2 separate regions of the Homo sapiens genome follow, and region 2 is linked to region 1. Evidence: promoter capture Hi-C in 16 types of primary human blood cells and fetal thymus (Javierre and others, 2016). All regions are on one chromosome and are shown on one strand. The core of a region is centred on a gene start or on the middle of the fragment in contact, and the rest is flanking DNA. Distances in the headings are between cores, read along the strand shown. Region 1 holds the start of HOXB13 (homeobox B13). Region 2 overlaps SKAP1 (src kinase associated phosphoprotein 1).

Region 1 (3,331 bases), core at 347-2,846:
CCTACAGGCGCACGTGCAATCCTGTTCCTCCAAAGCATACCAGGACAGCACCCTGGCTTCCGGCTTGTTCTCTCACCACCGCTCAGCCTTGGCTCCTGAAGGCCACCCTCACCCATCACTGCTCTCACACCCGCGAATCTGCAAACATACCCACACACCACACACAGTCAGGCCTTTGCCCACCATCACATACGTCCAGTCTTCATGCATTTCCAGACTCTTGGCCACTCTTTTAGATTCTACAGGCAAATTCTGGAAACACGTTTCTGCCCCCACTCCCAATACATGCGCATACACACACACACACACACATTAACCCATCCCAGTGCACACACATATGTCACGGCTGCAGGAAACCTAAATTTTTCTTTGGAAATTGGAAAACTCATCTAATAGAAAGTGAGAGGTTGTATTCTCTACAGTACATCCAATACCTTTTTACCCATCTCCCACACCCACTCCCCACGCACCGAATTGAGAGTTATTTAGCTTTTGTGTAGAATTAGTTTGGAATTGTGCTGGGTAGGGACACCCTGATCCCCACTCAACAGCAAAGAGATCTAAACCTCTCAGACATGTTGAAAGGCTGGTCCCAGGGCCTCCTGGAGAAGTGAGGTGGCCTTCAGGCTTCAGATAGCACCCAGCTCAGGCCCCTCACACTGACCTCCATCCAGGCCCTCCAGCTACTCAGACCTCCTTCAGAGTCCTAATAACCAAGGGAGGAGCACCAAGCTCATCCTCACCAGCTCCAAGTCTCCCTCCTCCTCCTCCCAGGGAAATGCCATTGGGACCCACAACCCCAGGCTCAGAGACAAGGGGACCCAGGGTAATAGAGGTACCTGCAAATGCTGCCTTCCAAAAGGGACCTGGTGGGTTCTGTTCTCCCTGGCAACACATCTGGCTGTTCCAGCCACCAGCGAGAGCCCAAGACTGGTAACTGTCCACAGGCAACAGGGAGTCATGTCGCGGTTCTCCAGGAGCACCCAGAGTCTGCACCACAGACACGTCCAGGTAACTGGCCATAGGCTGGTAGGTTCCCGGATATCCCGGATAGAAGGCAAACTCAGTGGGGCGGCTGGGGTACTCTTCCCCGGCCGTGGGAGTCTCCGCGGGGTACGCGGCCAGGGTGGCTGCCTGGGCACAGGGTTTCAGCGAGCTCCGGGACACTCGGCAGGAGTAGTACCCGCCTCCAAAGTAACCATAAGGCACGGGAGCTGGGGACGTCCCCTGGGGCACCCCAGGGCATGGGTGGCATTGCTTTGGCGGCTCCGCCGAGCCTGGCAGATCCAAGGGGGCATAGTTGACAGCAGGCATCAGCGTAGGCGCCGCTGGGTGGCTGGTCAGAGGGGAGTGGGCGACCAGATTCCGCCCCCCTCCCGCTCCCAGCAAGCCTTCGATATCCTTGGCTCCATCCAAGGTGGCATAATTGCCGGGCTCCATGGAGCCGAGGGTCGGCTCATGAGGTGCGGGGGCGGGGAATCTAGGGGGCACCCAGCTCGCTCTCCCCACCCAGGCCGGGGGAATCCAAAGCGTTTTAAATCGCTCCCAGCTCGCAAGTCGCCTGCATTCGCTCAGCACGGCCGTCTTGACGCAAGAGACGCAGGGGCCCGGGCACGCGCGCTGATTGGCTGCGGCCTGGGGGAGAGAAGCTAATAAAATCCTAAAGGCAGAAACTGCGAAAATACTTTACCCCAGCTTATTCTCTCTCTCTCTCTCTCTCTTTCTCTCTCTCTCTCTCTCTCTCTCTCTCTCTGTCTCTGTCTCTCTCTCTCGCTCTCTCGCTCTTTCTCTCCTCTCTCTCTTCTCCCTCTCTCTCTTCTTTTCCCTCTCCACTCCTCTCTCTCTCATTCCACTTAAAAACAACAAGAGAGAAAAGGAAGGAGGTGTCCTTTCGCTGCTTTCCAGTTTGCAGAGTCTCATTTACACGTCCGGGGGGAGGGGAGGCGTGGTGGGCGGAGGAAGAGGGGACGAGGAGCCGGGCCCCACCTCCTTCTCCTCCTCTCCCTCCCTAGCTTTCTGTCTCCTGCGCTTTGACAGGTTTAACGAGAGAATAAAAAGCTCTCTCTATAAAGTGTCCATCTCCTGGGGGGGAAGGGGAGTCGGGGGTGGGGCTGGGAGGCCGCTCCCGGCCTCAGAGGAGAACCCGGGAATGCGCCTGTGTAAGAGGAGGCTGGGAAATGGGGGTTAATAGGTATTTCTGGCAGCCCCTGGCTTTGGGTCCTGGGTACTAGCACCCCAGTTCATTCCCGGTACCCTTCCTGTCCCAGATGTCCTGGAATGAGCTGCTCCGGGCCCCAGGGAGGTGCCCTGGACGCCCCTTACCCAGGGACTCGCTACTGCCCAGAATGCTCTGGAGGCCCTGATTCGGGTGAGGCTGAGGGAAGAGGCGGGAGACACGAACGTAGACGTAGAAGACATGCGATCTGGATGGAACCCAGGACACTCCACTTCCGGACCTGAAGGGGAAATGGAGCCTCTAGAGTGGCCTGTGGAAGGGTCTGGATTTCCCTTTAAGTAAAGACATACGGAGGGACGGAGACCCACAGGACTTGAGGGAGGGACGGGGAGAGGGAGAGATGAGACTCAGGGACAGCAACACAAAGAGGGAAAGAGAGAAGCTGACAGAGCGGATGGGACAAAATCTTGTAAAATCCTGAAGTGTCAGTCAGAAAAGAGAAAGAAGAGAGGCACTTTCCCCCTTTTTTGGGATCTAAAGAAGTCTGAGGAAGCCAAGCCTGGCTGACTGCCAGAAACCAGCTGCGGGAGTTCTGGACCCCAAGAATACAGACGCCTGTGTGGAGATGCCAGTCTCCCTGCCCTGCAGTCCTCTCCCTATGGTCTGCAAGGGGCCCAGGAAACTGTCCCTGATACTGGCATACTCCCACACAAGCTGAGTACCCAGAAAGCCCAAGACCCCTATCTGCCTCCTGCAAGCTTTAAACTTCCTTACAAGGAAAAGGGAATGGAAGGGGAAACCCCAGCCACTGGCAGAATTGCTTGAGGCCCCTCTGTTGGGGCCTAATGTGCAGTGCAATTCAGAAGAATCAAACGGTTTGTTTCACAAATCTGTCTTTAGAGGTTTTCCGCTTCCTTTACTACCCCTCCCAAATCAAATCCTTCTGTCTGCTTTTTCTAGAACTCCCAGTTTTTCTGGAGAAGACAGGAATGTTTCCATTCTACACGAGGGTCTTGACAATTATATGGAATGGCTTACCCTAAACTCTGGGCAGACTCAATCATAGCCTCTCACCAACCTGACCTTGAACTTGAGCCACTTTGTGGGAAAGGGCCCACAGGCAGTAGTGTACATCACTCCTAATGAGCATTGCTA
Region 2 (3,331 bases), core at 306-2,805, 420 kb before region 1:
ACTTGAAAATGTTGTCTTGGTATGTTGGCCTTGCACCTTTAATGAGGCTTGGAATAAGGGAAGGTGGAAAGGAATCTTTGGGCAATGACAATTTGGCACCATTTTTGAGGGAAGCCTGTCTTGGTTTTGCCTGCACTTGCACAAATACTACTTCGAAAGACCCTCTTTCCATTCTGAGCAATATGGTTGCATTACCAAAAGCAATATCTTTTATCAGAAGCAGTTTTTGCTGCATGCACCAACTTTCACTATATTCTTAGCAACTCTTTCTTTTATGCCAGTTCCAGACATCAGTTAACAAAACCCTTTAACGAACAGATGTACTGAAGAAATGCATCAATTTGTTATTTGCTACAGTTTGGGGTGTCTGTCCTACGGGTTTTCTAGCCAAAGCCTTATATGTTTCCCAAGAGAAATTTACTTTCATGAGAGAAGAAAATTGAGGCAAATCACTGCTGTTAGACCCTGAAGTCAGAGACACTGGTTTGTTGTCCTTCTGTACATGTGAAGAAAAACTCCACAGTTACAGAAACAATTGTGGTTCCAATTCATCTCTCATTCTCTCCCAATGTGAAAAATTACAAATGAAACTAAATTTCTGTCAATAGAATGTGTATGATTACAGCTGTTCATATTTTCACTCTAATGAAGGGCTGCACATTTAATTGTAAGATTTATTAGAGACTGTACATTGCTATATACATGCAAAACAGTTAATCGACATCTAAAATGCTGGTTGTTTATTCTGACATTAATAATCATATTTCTTAATTTGAAACAAAAAGCATTTGGGGAAAATGTATTTTGTTTCCTCCAAATCGGAAAATAATAATTTCAATGTAAGAAATAAAAAGGCAAGAGAAAAAAATATTGATTTATGTATGTAAGGCAGGGGAACAATTAAAGATGCTTAAAAAAAAAAAGTCCATAATCCCCTATTCTGCTGGAAACAAGAGAGTTGATTGCCAGCTTTGTTTGATTTCACAGAGATCTCATACGAGGCTGGGTTCATAAACAGGTGAAATGATGGAGTTTATTGCAACACACATCAACACTGAAACTAAATAACTGTGTTGCCATCTCAGTCCCACTGAAAGACGGATGGTAAACTTGACCTGCCGCTGGTACTATCCGATTGCCATTTTTTATTCCCCCTTCGCCGCCCCCCCAGGCTGAGCCACGTTGAGTAAATGCATGTGCACGGTCAGGTCAGACCCCGGGATCGGGTGAAACTCCGTTCACATTTGCATACAGGCGGAGTCTCACAATGAAAGCCCATCTGTTCCCGTCTCGGAGTACAAATCGAGTGTCACCCAACTCACTGCAAACGACAGAAGCATGGCCATTAGATGGAGGAACACTCAGCTCAGGTTACGGATATGGAACTGCTGATTTGGGTTTAAATACCTGATCACTGAAGACTTTTCATTATATGTGAACAAAGAATGAACTTTGAACTGCTCAGGAGATACCCTCTCCCCACATTGGGCATCCCCAGTTCTATCCATTACCAATACGTAACTGCTATATTTTCCACTGACTCTATTTTTTGTATAAAAATTAGCCAGGCTGAGTGTCACAATGCCCTAAATAATTGCTTTTTTGCGGGGGAGGAGGGAAGGATAAGGGTAAGAGGTGGAGCAGCAAGGGATGTTGTAAATAGAAAATGAACTCTGAACTCTATATGCCCCCAAAGGTCATTAATATCATGGCAGTGCTATTCCTTGAACTTCTAAATTTTACCAGGGTAGAAATTTTAGTTGCCAGAGTTTAACCAAAGTGTGAACTGCCCCTGCCCTTTAATTCCTCCCTCCCAAACCCATTCAGTTAAGCGAGGCACCTGCCTCCTAGGATCTTCACTCACGGGCCTGGTTATTCCAAAATAGTTTATCAATCACGATCTGTGTCAGAGATTACTTTTCTGTTAAAATTCGGCAAGTACTTTAGAGTTTACAGACAGAAATCACATATATTCTGACACAAAAAGATAGAGCTGTTCAAGAAGAAACCCCAGGATAATAAGCCTATCCAAGCACCAGCCATGATAAATACAAGGAAAATCATGAGCAAAAATATGGGTAGGATTTCATCAAATGCTTTCTTGTCCTATTTTATGGCAAGAATCTATTTCTACAAAAATCTTTCTAAGGAAGACACAAGCATCTGGGGTTTGGCTACTTGTGTTTATATTTGAAGTACTTCTGTATTCTGTTACATGAATCACATTTAACATTAACATACGATTTTAGCCATTAGCCCAGTTTGGGCTCCAGTGCATGTGTGGTTACATGTCCAAACACACAAACTACTGTAGAGAAAGCAGATTGCCAGTTTTCCTTTTACCGGTTATGCTTCTTGTTTTCCAATCAGTAATAGTGTCACTATATGAAGTGCAAAGGTAAAATCTGATTGGGTGAAAAAAAACTTTTAATATCTGCAAGAATTTTCTTGATTTGTTTTAAGTAATTAAGTAATTTGTTTTCTTGCATATACTTCTCTTTCTTAAAACACTTACTAGAACAATTTTATAGAAAAGAATGTATTAGGATGACGTAGAATCCAGAATGTTTAAAGGCCTTTGGTCTTAAAGGCTGTGTCTCCTCAGCAAGGGTTTCTATAACACTATGTGAAACTATGTTCTTATTGTTTGTCCTTTAAAAATAATACCAGGGTAAAGAAAAGATTTGAGGGCTATTTCTTTTTTCATCCCATGCAAGAGCTTATGGTCAACCTTAATGGAAGTTCTACATGCATTAAAAGAGAGAATAGACCCTTTGTTTCAGAAGAATGACCAAGACAAGGGTGAATTTCTGTTCCACTTTGTCAAGTTTAAGGGGAAACTGAATTCAGGAAAAGAGAGTGTGAGAGAGAGAGACCCCCAAACAACTTTCTTAGCTGTCTCCTCATTGCCTCCAATCTTAAACTTATAACGTTTTATTGTTATTCTGTAAACAAGTCAGGAATTTGCATTAGGAGACACTTGGCCATATGATATCTTGGAGGTGGGCTGTTTATTTGCATTCCATGCAGCTGGGTGTCTTCTGTGTGATCAGTAACAAAGCAGAAGAAACTAACAAGCCAGAAATATAATACCAGAGGTTTTCTTTCTGTCTACATCAGGAGAAAATGCTCCATTAAGGAGGTATAACTACTTTAATTCTATATTCCTAAAGGGATATGGATGAGAAAAAATCTTCTTGTTCCAAAATGATAAAATAACTTGTTTATAGAAATATGGGTTGCTTGGTTTCTTGTTATGCACTATTGGTGGCGGGGCGGTGGGGGGGTGGGAGGGCGCGGCTGGTGTGAACAGGAACCGAACCTTGAACTT

The links. Contacts are between HindIII fragments. The CHiCAGO score rates a contact against its expected background, and 5 or more counts as called.
Region 2: a fragment that was not itself captured here is called in contact with the fragment with the promoter of HOXB13 in region 1 in 1 of 17 cell types (total B cells); the score reaches 5.9 in total B cells.

Annotation. Positions count from the first base shown.
Region 1 is chr17:48,727,154-48,730,484 of GRCh38, forward strand. It overlaps HOXB13 (homeobox B13), which reads right to left and starts at 1,597. Exons shown (of 2, transcript NM_006361.6): 1 at 840-1,597. The coding sequence starts at 1,440. The HindIII fragment of the contact is 3,706 bases long and covers 1-2,932 here.
Region 2 is chr17:48,309,868-48,313,198 of GRCh38, forward strand. The region is part of intron 4 of SKAP1 (src kinase associated phosphoprotein 1); the gene reads right to left. Among named protein-coding and RNA genes, the nearest start is that of SKAP1-AS2, 17 kb to the left of the region's middle. The HindIII fragment of the contact is 8,426 bases long and covers 1-3,331 here.